Regions from separate parts of the Homo sapiens genome. Here region 1 is linked to region 2. Evidence: promoter capture Hi-C in 16 types of primary human blood cells and fetal thymus (Javierre and others, 2016). All regions are on one chromosome and are shown on one strand. The core of a region is centred on a gene start or on the middle of the fragment in contact, and the rest is flanking DNA. Distances in the headings are between cores, read along the strand shown. Region 1 overlaps VPS8 (VPS8 subunit of CORVET complex). Region 2 holds the start of C3orf70 (chromosome 3 open reading frame 70).

Region 1 (5,145 bases), core at 2,541-5,040, 260 kb after region 2:
GCCTAAATCCTGTGCTCAGTCTATTGTGGCATATTGCTTCTTAAAGACAACACTGACATGGGAACAGATAATTGGGTGGACATCATGAAGTAGGAAAAAAACAAAAGGACTACTCATGATTTATCCTTCCCTCCTTCTTGGTATTTAAATATTCCTAGCTGACCTGCAGTCAATATGCTTCTTTGTCTAGCTATAACCCTTTGCATCCCAAAATGTTTGGCTAGTGATTATTCATGGAAGAAGAAGAAAAAAAATGTTTAATCCTTAAAATATAAACCTAGAAACAATTTTATTGCAGAAACAAAAATTGTTTTAAATTACTTTAAATGTCAACAACCTCGACAATGTTTATTTCATATTTCTGGAAACAACCCATAAATAATTTGAGTTATATTGACCACAGACAGAATTCGGAATTCTGTTTTCATACATTATATGATAAGCATTATTCTAAGTTGCTATTTATTCTTCAAAATTACCATTTTGTCTAACACAATACTTCAATATGCTGAAAAATCAGAATATACTTAAGTATTCCTGTACTGTTGGATATATTACTTATTTCCAGTATTTCAAGTGATACTACAATGAACATCTACATATAAAGCCTTTCCCATTTGAAGGGCTTAATTCCTAAATCAGTCAACTTTTAGAAATTTATCTTAAGTGAAAAGATATGAAAAAATCTGTGGCACTTGAAATGTGCTATGAAATTATCTTCAAAAAGCATCACAGCATCAATTGACACTGCCACCCACAATGTATAATCCTACCAGTTTCACCAGACAATTGCAAACTTGGTTTTTCTCCCCTGACAATTTAATAATTCTTTTATGACCAGCAAAATTGAATATTTTCCATGTTTTCATTTATAAATTGTATTGCCTTGTATCATTCACTTCTTTGTTCATTCTGTTTTTTAAAAAATACAAAAACTGTGTGAATTTTATTTACCTGTTGAGATTATTTACTTTTTCCTAAATGTGTAATTTCTTTATATGTATATCATGTCAATTGTAGAAAGTGGTAAATGGTTTATTTATTCACAGGTATGGTCTTTCATGACAAGTTCCACAAAAACATCAAGGAAGCTCCTGAAAGGACTAGGATGGGGTTTTGACTCATCTGAAGTCCTGGAAGGGGACAGATGGAAAACAGACTGGCTACAACTGCACCAGAACTCCACACCACCCTGCAATTAACAGCATTTGCAACATTCTAGGGAAAATCCACAGCCATTTATTTTTTTCTCAAATGCACAAATGTAATTTTACATCATTTTTCCCCTCCATTTCATATTTATCAAAATATTTTCATGTCAGTTTCATTTGAATCAATAATTCATCATATTTTTGTGATGACCGATTACTAGCCAAGCAAAACAAACAGAGATTAATGGAGTTTTACTGTAAGAAAGAAAAAGTAACAAGATAACCAATGATTCAAAGAAAATGTCAGATTTGGAAGCCCTTGTACTCTGTAATGTGTTGTTAAAAGGAACATGCTAAAAAAGATAATTATATATTTTAGTTTAGTACAAAAAGCCTTGGGGAGAGAATTAAAGAGAGCTAAAAATTCAGTAAAGGCTACAAAAGTTAACTAAGAAGGCACTCCTGTTTACAAACAGCATGTGATGCTGCTAAGATAAATGCAAAACCACACGTTTCTTTCTTAACCAATCAGAAGCTATAATATAAAGAAGCAAGAAAAATAAGGCTCAGCAACTCCTATTTGCATCTCTACCTTAAAATAAAATTTTTTTTATATTCAACGACAAATTCTCATCATTCTGGGAGAATACTTATTAGTGCATCAGGAAAGAGGGGAGATAGAAAAGTACATACAGGCTAGGCCGGGTGCAGTGGCTCATGCCTGTAATCCCAGCTCTTCGGGAGGCCAAGGCAGGCAGATCACTTGAGGTCAGGAGTTTGACACCAGCCTGGCCAACCTGGGGAAACCCCGTCTCTACTAAAAATACAAAAATTAGCTGCGTATGGTGGCACGCGCCTGTAATCCTGGCTACTCAGGAGGCTGAGGCAGGAGAATTGCTTGAACCCAGGAGACAGAGGTTGCAGTGAGCCGAGATCGACTCCAGCCTGGGCAACTGAGCGAAACTCTATCTCAAAATAAAATTAAAAAAAAGACAAGTACATACAAAAATTTGTAGCTCTCATATTTTTTTCTATATTTAGGCACTATTCTCCAGGGTGCTATCTTTGTTTCCTAGAAGGGCTGACTTCAAAATTGATGTTTACCATTTCAAGCTTAGCCTCCCTATGGCCAGTGTAACAGAAAATCGATCATGAATAATAGAGGACCAAAGAGATATTTCTACAAACTTCACTTTATAACAGTACTCACATTAAAGGTATTTTTGAAGTTTATCATTTATAACTTCAAAAAGAGGACAACTGTTAAATTTACTTTGTACATTATCGATTTCATAATTTTTTAAATGTGAAGAGCTGCTTTGGTTATAAGAAATTACAAATTTAGAAGTATGTGAAGGGGAACAAGGGCATCAATCCTAACCCTTGCCAATCCATACTAAATATATAACCAGAACCAAACAAGTAAATTCCCACCAAATACAAGTGGTATTTAATATATCCAAAGTTGATGTGGGCTGGTTTCCTTATTTATAAAAGCAAAAGCAAAATTCAAATGAATTTTAACAAATTATGTTCAAAATGCTCTATTTTTTGATACAAGTACCACAGTTCGTAAAGATTTCCTTTAAAAAGGCATGTGGTGATACTTACACAGCTGTGAATACACTAAAAACTACTGAATTGTATACTTTAAAAGGGTGAATTTTATGGTATGTGAATTATATCTCAATATAGCTATTATAAAATTAAAAACGCCTTTTTTCCCCCAGCTTTGATATTAGGTTGGTACAAAAGTAATTGCAGTTTTTGCCATTACTTTTAATGATGAAATTTGCAATTACTTTTGCACCACCCTAATAAAATTTTAAACATCCAGTTCCTCAACAAGTCTTGATAATTAAGATCTTTTTGTTTCTCAAACAATAGTCCTGATGTTGAACAACATGAGTGAACAAATTAAAAGACTACTTCAAGTTCACTTTGGATTTAACAGAAACATTTTTGGTTCAGATGCATACATAACACAAGCCATTGGAACGATGGCTTCTTAACAACTGTGGATATTCCTTACAGTGATATAAACTCAAAGTCGTCGGTATCATCCATATAGAGCACCCATTTTGCTTTTTTTTAAAATAACTGCTTTATTGCTATATAATTCACATATAATCACATAACCCTATTTTTAAACAACGTTCAAAATTATAATTATGGTTTACATAAACTCTGGATCTATTTTCAAAGTAAAACTGACATTAGGGCTACCCATATATATGCTAACATATAGCCTATATTTTGCATAGGTAAAATGACAAATCAGAAGTATTCACAAAAAGCCTTAAGACATTGTGTCTTTTGTCTAATACTGAAAAAAAAATACACAAAACCAAATTGAAATGAAATTGTGGAACAGAGACCAAATTATGAAAATAAAGTATAAGTCTTCAAAAACAGAATTCCTGTCATTTCTGATATTAAGTAATTTACAAAAGACTCTAATGCCAAATTTTAACCAAGAAAGATGTCCATAATACACTGAGTAGTATGCCCTACAGAGAAAAACAAATGTGATTACTGTGACATAGTAAAAATGATTTTACATTATAAAAGTGTTATTAAATATAAATAGGAATACATATATCCACTAGCTTAATTAATATTACTGATGGGTACTGAATTATCTGAGTTATGAAACTATGAGGTAACAGTGATTATAGTGTAATAATGGTTGTGCCACTAAGTTAAAATTAATTTCAGAGCATGTATTATGTTTATAATTTCACCCACCTAAGAAACAATATAATATGTGAAAATAAAAGGACTGCCTATAAAAACAACATACTCAATCAGAAGACATTAATATAAAAGGAATCTGGGGAACAGGATTGAGTGAGTAATGAATCTAGAAGTGGAAGAAGTTACCTGAAATTGGCTAGCTGAGTACTAGATGACATTTTGTAAGACTGTGTTTGTATTATGCAAAATCTGAGCATTCCTTAAAGCAATGTTAATGTCACAGATATTTTGCTAATTTGGAAATGCAGAAGAGAAGACCTTAGACATAAATAGGACCAAATGTCAAAAAGGATAGTATAAAGAGAGGATCCAGTTTAAGGAGAAAAAATACTATGCTGGGATGAAGCTACTTACATCTGACAATCCTCCGCTACAATTTAGCATAGGGAACTGACCATTTTTAACCTTATTATCTATGGCAACTCTAAGAAAAAAATTTTTAAAACTCTACCATTTAAGTGGTTAGACTGAACTATTTAATTAAACATAGAATTCTTGTATCTAATAAATCTTTAGTCATTGCATGTTTGAAATAGAAGGGAAGTGAAAGATGGCCTAGATGCAAACAATTAAAGTTGATCAAACGGCTTATTCAATCTTTCCTTCTAAGTTCAGGCCCATATATAGAAGAATCTTAACATTCTGATGAAAAAGAAAAGCCAGTATGGTGAGAAGCAAACAAGCACAACACAGACCTAGAACAAAAGAGGGAGCGTTTGACCCAATGCCTAGTTTCACAGCCCCGACCTTTCTTACATCTCTAGGAATGCTGCCCTCCCGCTTTTTCTCCTATTAGAATAGAACCCAAAGAGTAGAATTAGGGAAAGAGACAAGGAGGGAAAGAAAGACAATAAGAACACACATGCTGGAACTTCTCCCAAGCAGAGGCAGGATCTAGTACAATCTAGTCTTCGGTGTTAGAAAACAGAATTGAGAGAAAGGGAAGCCATCCATACGCTCTTTGTACTATGGTCCAGGGAAAATGTCCATGGCCTTGACCTAAGAGTGTGTATGTAAGAGCAGGAGGAGGAAGAAAGAAAAGAGGTATGAAAAGCACCAGGAAGAGCTGAACTGAGGAAGGATTCTCTTCCTCTTGGAGGTGAGGAGTATATACTATGACTGCTGTTCCTGTTATTTCTGAGATCTCCAACAACAAATATTGTATTTGTTTCTGACACAATACAGAGAAAGCATGCTAAGGAATCAGGAAAAATTATAGGAAAGAAGTTGACAAAAA
Region 2 (5,221 bases), core at 1,652-4,151:
TTCTTAAAGGGGAGCTGGAGAGGTGGTCAGCAGCTACAGGACAAGTTCATATTTATGATCAAATTGTATGCTATTATGCAATAATTATGGTTAGAGATTTTAAAATTTCCTTTAGAGATATACACCAAAATATTAATGGATGAAACGATTTGATGTTTGAGATTGGCTTAAAAATGATCCAGTGGACAGGTTGGGGGCCTGGAGTGGGTGGCGCTGTAGATGAAACAAGGTTTTCTAAATGAGTTCATAATCGTTGAAACTGGGTGATGGGTACATGGGTACATGGGGGGTTATCTTCATCTCTCTATGTTTGTATATTTTGGAAAGTTTCATAATAAAAAATTTAAAAATCGTATCCCAACAACACATCCTGAAAGCTGTGTGTATATATTTGAGAGGTCACAGCAATTACCTCCTCCCGCTCCACACCAGACAGTAGAAATCAATAACGTCTTTAGGGCAAGGTGATGGAATGAGTTTCATGGTACAGAAAATGTAAAGGCTTCTCAACTTCAAATCACGTGTCTAACCTAAAATAAGGTGTTTGGATAATTCATCTTGCCTCCTAGCTAAAGTGCTATATTGCATGCTTTCTCATGCTCATTTTTTACTAGCTGAGATGGTTTATTTCATATATTGTGGAATCTTACCACATGGTTCACCCTGGGGTAAAAGTCAGGGGAAGGATCCCATACAAGTATTAGTTACTGAAATACAGAGAGGATGCCGTCATAAGGCCTTCTATGATAGGGGCAGTATTAGAGTGAGTTATAGGTTGGAGAAAGAGAAAAATAGGGTAGAACAGATGGAAAGTCCCCTTTGAAAAATTGTTGGTTGGCTTGCTGCAGTAATAATGGAGTATGGATTTCTTTGATTAAGATTTCTCTGCCTTTTACTTCCGTTATTCTGAGGTAGGTCAGACTGTGAAGTTAACAGCAGGGGTGCATAGATTTTGTGTCAGAGATGTATTCCTTTAGGATTTTTTTGAGGCGGGGAGCAGTTGGGGTGGAAGCTGATGAGATGATTCTTCATGTTTGCAACTGTTTCAATGTTAGGTTAATGGGGGAACTAGAGTTTGTGATTTTGATTCAGACCTTTCTGGAAAATACTTTTGCTGCCAAATTGAGTCTCTCCCCAATCCCTAATAAATGAAGATTTCACCAGAGTCAGATATATGCAAATTACATTTCCCTTCTCAAGCCAAGGTTACATAAAAGGGAAAATTATGAAAGATTGCTTATGGCAGCAAGGATTTTCAAGCTTGAGGATGAATTTGGTTGTTTCAAAACCATGATGAGTCTCTTGTCAGTGCAAAGCAGGAAAGGCATAAAGGAGAAAGTGGACCTGGGCATAAACATGTTCCCACACAGTGTTTGTGCTGAAAGCCTTGTTCCTTGAACAAGCATTCTTCTGTGCGTTTGGCAAATAAGGAGGGGGTGTCCCCTCCTCTTCTGTGTTCAAGGCTGGGTTCTGGCCTTGTTGCAGGGAAACACTAATTCCCAGCAGTGCACCATGGGAGCAAATGGTTTGTTTCCTCTTCAGTGAATCCAGCCTGGGGTCGGTTCTCAGCAGCAGAGCCTGGCATGGAAAATCTATTTGGAGCAACTTGTCCCCAGGAGGGAAGAGTGCGAGCCAACTGTGTGGGGAAGCCGCAGCCACCACAGGGTCAGTCACACCTGCTGGCCAGAGCAGGCGCTAACACAGAAAGGCAGAGTCCTCCGCATACATGAGTCCTGTTTGTGTGCCCACCCACTCCTATGTACCACACACACCCGATTTGATCCGTATATGCCATGTGCACACTCGACATGCCAGATACACGCACTGCACTGCCACACATATACCATACACACACCACTCTGTATTACTAAGCATACCCACCCCCACAACACGTGCACAAGCACATGCACGTCCAACTACACACATATACATATTCTGCACGCCACACACACTCAACCACACACACACCACCCACACTCCACCTCAGTTATAACATTCATTTCACATACACACGTATACACACACCTCACCAGTCACTTGCATCACGCATACCACCCACCATGTACCATGAACACACCTAACCACACACAACCACACACGCATACCCACCATACATACTCCAAATAATCATACACACGCACGCAACACACACATCCCATGCACACCAAACTACACATACGCAGACACACACACACATCAATGCACCCAGCTTTGTTGCTTTCCCGCTCAACGGAGGCGGGGGTGGGAGGAGAAGGGGGAGGGGCTGCGGTCCCGGCGAAGGTTGGGGCGGGCGCGGGAAGGCCCGGGCGCACTGGCCTGGGGTTTGGGGCGAGGCGGGCAGGGGTTGGCGGTGCTGGCCCCTGACGCGCCCTGTGGCCGCGCTGGGGCAGGAGGCCCGCCCTGGGTGGGGGGAGTGCGCGCGTGTGCACGAGCGTGTGCGCGCCTCCCAGGGGCTCCATGCCCAGACACGGGGAGGTGTGTACGAGGGAGATGTGAGACGCCTGTGGGGACAGGCTGTGTGTGTGAGATCCTCGCTACGCGATGCACCCGGCCCGGGCCACTAGGAGGTTCGGGTGGGCGTGGGCCAGGTGTGCGCAGCCCTCCGTGGAGCGTGTGGACGCGTGTGTCAGTTCTCGGTGGCCAGTGTCACTCGGGGGGAAGTGCATATGTAGGCTGGCGTGCATGTGAGTACAAAGCGGCCGAGGAGTGTGTGTTCACCACGGCCCTCCGTCGGGGTCTTTCTCCGAGGAAGGAGTGAGTATGTGAGGAGGACCTCGCTGTGACCGGCGGGGACGCCGACGGCCAAGCTCCCCAGCGGCGTGTGTGTGAGAAGGCCGGGCTCGCTGAGGAACGTCGCGCGGGGCCGACCGGCGCGCGCCTGTGCGCGTGCGTGTGCGCGTGGGGCGCGGCGCGCGCCGCGCCGGAGGGAGGGAGGCTGCCAGCCCGGACCCGGTCGCAGCGCCCGGGGCGGCTCCTCCTCGAGCCTGGGACCGCCGCGCTCCCGCCGCCGCCGCGTGCTGGCGTGACTCCCGGCCCGTGCCGCGCCCTCCCGCGTCCGCAGCCGGCTCGGCTTCCTGCCCACCCAGACGTCGCTTCTCCCGGGCTCCCGGTGTCGGCTCCGCGCGGAGGGAGAGGAAATGAGTGCGGCGGCCTCGCCGGCGTCGGAGCGGGGTTGGAAGAGCGAGAAACTAGATGAGGCTCAGGCCCTGGCGCGGAGTTGCGCCGCCCGCAGACCCGACTTCCAGCCGTGCGACGGGCTGTCTATCTGTGCCACGCACAGCCATGGCAAGTGCTTCAAGCTGCACTGGTGCTGTCACCTAGGATGGTGTCACTGTAAGTCGAGCCGCGTCTTCCCGCCTTCCGCCGCGGTCCGGGGGACGCCCGCCGGGCCGTCCGGGGTCGCTGCCGGAACTCTGCGGCCGCGGGGCTCCGGGCTCTGCCGGGGCTGCTCTGCCGGAGGCTGGGGCCGCCGTGGGCTCCGGGCCCGCCGGAGCTTTCCTTGCGCCGGACGGCTGGGGTTGGCGCTGCCTTGACGACGAGATGAAATCCCGTGGGGCGCCTCGCTTTCTTTAGCTACTTCTACAAAAGGGAGCTCCCTGTCCCAGGGAAGCGGGAATCTGGTTTTTTTTCTTTTCTTTTTCTTTTTTTGACCAAGGCGTCCAGGCGGTGTTTTGAGAAATGGGAGCGAGCCAGCTGAGTTGGCGACAGCTGTTGGGGATGCCTTTTTTCAAGGTTGCTGGTTAAAGATGCTCCTCTTTTTCTTTCTCACTTTTGTCTTCCTGGGCTGCTATTTAAAAGAAGGAGCCCTTGGATATCCAATTGTTTCCCCCTTGATTGTACCCAAATTGAGAAAAAGCGCTAATGTGGGAGGGATTGCTTCCAAGAAGTTAATATTAACAGTTTGGAAGGTCGAGCTCCTTAAATACCCAGATGTAGAATTTAGAGCCAAATAAATGAGACTTATAAAATTACAAAATAAAATGAGTGAAAGTAAGCTTAATAGTCTTAAACCAATTTATAAAAGCTAGAACCAAATGGTCTAAACCCTTTCTCTGTGTTTAGCCTCCTGCCTGTGATTTTTAAATAGATTAAACTTAAGTAGCCATTTAATTAGAATTTCACAATTTGATTAGCTAATAGTATTTGGACTATATCCGATGAATCATTCATTTTAAGAAATATATTCTAAAGTTAGTTTCCACATATATTTGTAATAGAGGGTTTTGGAGTGCTTATTTAGGACATTTTCCAAGTGATCTTAAGTTAAAATGAATTTTTCTTTGTTGAGAAAAAAATAGCTGACAACCAGGAATGCAGTACATAACAAATCCTTATTTACATTAATCGAACATAAATGAATATTTTAAATCGAATTTATGAATTCAAGGATAGAGGATCATTTTCTTTACAAATTCCAGGCACATAGAACAGTATTGATTTCTGGTGTTCCATTTGCTTATGGGCCAGTTTCTTCCTATTTCTCATTATTCCTGTTGTGCTCAGATCTGTTCTCTTTTGTTAGTATAAAGCATTGCTTCACGGTGGGACAGGGTACCGAGTTGGAAGTAGCAACTCTAGGAAACCTGGGATGCTGAAGTGCACAAGTAGAATCTGGACTTTCATTCATTTCGTGGGAAAGTATAGAATCGTTGTGTAAAATGTGAGGAATGTTCAAGATAGTCCAGGTTACTGTCTGTCTTATTTTGACAGTGTCTTCTCTAAGTACACCGTTACTGATGGGAACCTTGCAGTTTTCTCAGACAGCTTCTCCCTTCATTAGCCTTGACTCTTAAAATACTCTTCCTTATATGGAGCTGAAATCAGTTACTTTCTAACTTCTTTCTTCTGCTCCTATTTCTGCCTTATGAAATCATATAGAACAATTGAATCCTTTTTTAGATCATGGCTGTTTCAACTCTTCATATATACATTGCTGAATATACATATGAATGTCTTGCACATATGGACTGTCTTCTCTCTGTATCCCTGGCCATTCTCACAATGTCTTTCCTGAAATAGGTTTAACAATAATGTTCATTGAATGACTGAATGAAGCTAGTGATCATCTTTCTCTTAAGGCATTTCTTTGTCCTATTTATACATTTCCAGTCCCTTCTGCCTTTCCTTTTATGGAATAGTATTCAGGCTCCTAAGCATCTTGGTTGTTCTCTTCTGAACATGTGCCAAGGTGGTTTTGATCCTTTGAAGACTGTGGCCCCTA

The links. Contacts are between HindIII fragments. The CHiCAGO score rates a contact against its expected background, and 5 or more counts as called.
Region 1: a contact is called between a fragment that was not itself captured here and the fragment with the promoter of C3orf70 in region 2, in 3 of 17 cell types (endothelial precursors, megakaryocytes and erythroblasts). The highest score is 11.4, in endothelial precursors.

Annotation. Positions count from the first base shown.
Region 1 is chr3:184,889,222-184,894,366 of GRCh38, reverse strand. All of the region lies in intron 22 of VPS8 (VPS8 subunit of CORVET complex), which reads right to left. Among named protein-coding and RNA genes, the nearest start is that of VPS8, 80 kb to the right of the region's middle. The HindIII fragment of the contact is 3,047 bases long and covers 2,267-5,145 here.
Region 2 is chr3:185,150,740-185,155,960 of GRCh38, reverse strand. It overlaps C3orf70 (chromosome 3 open reading frame 70), which reads left to right and starts at 2,901. Exons shown (of 2, transcript NM_001025266.3): 1 at 2,901-3,333. The coding sequence starts at 3,138. RefSeq lists an enhancer at 2,716-2,855 and a silencer at 3,276-3,495. The HindIII fragment of the contact is 2,735 bases long and covers 1,263-3,997 here.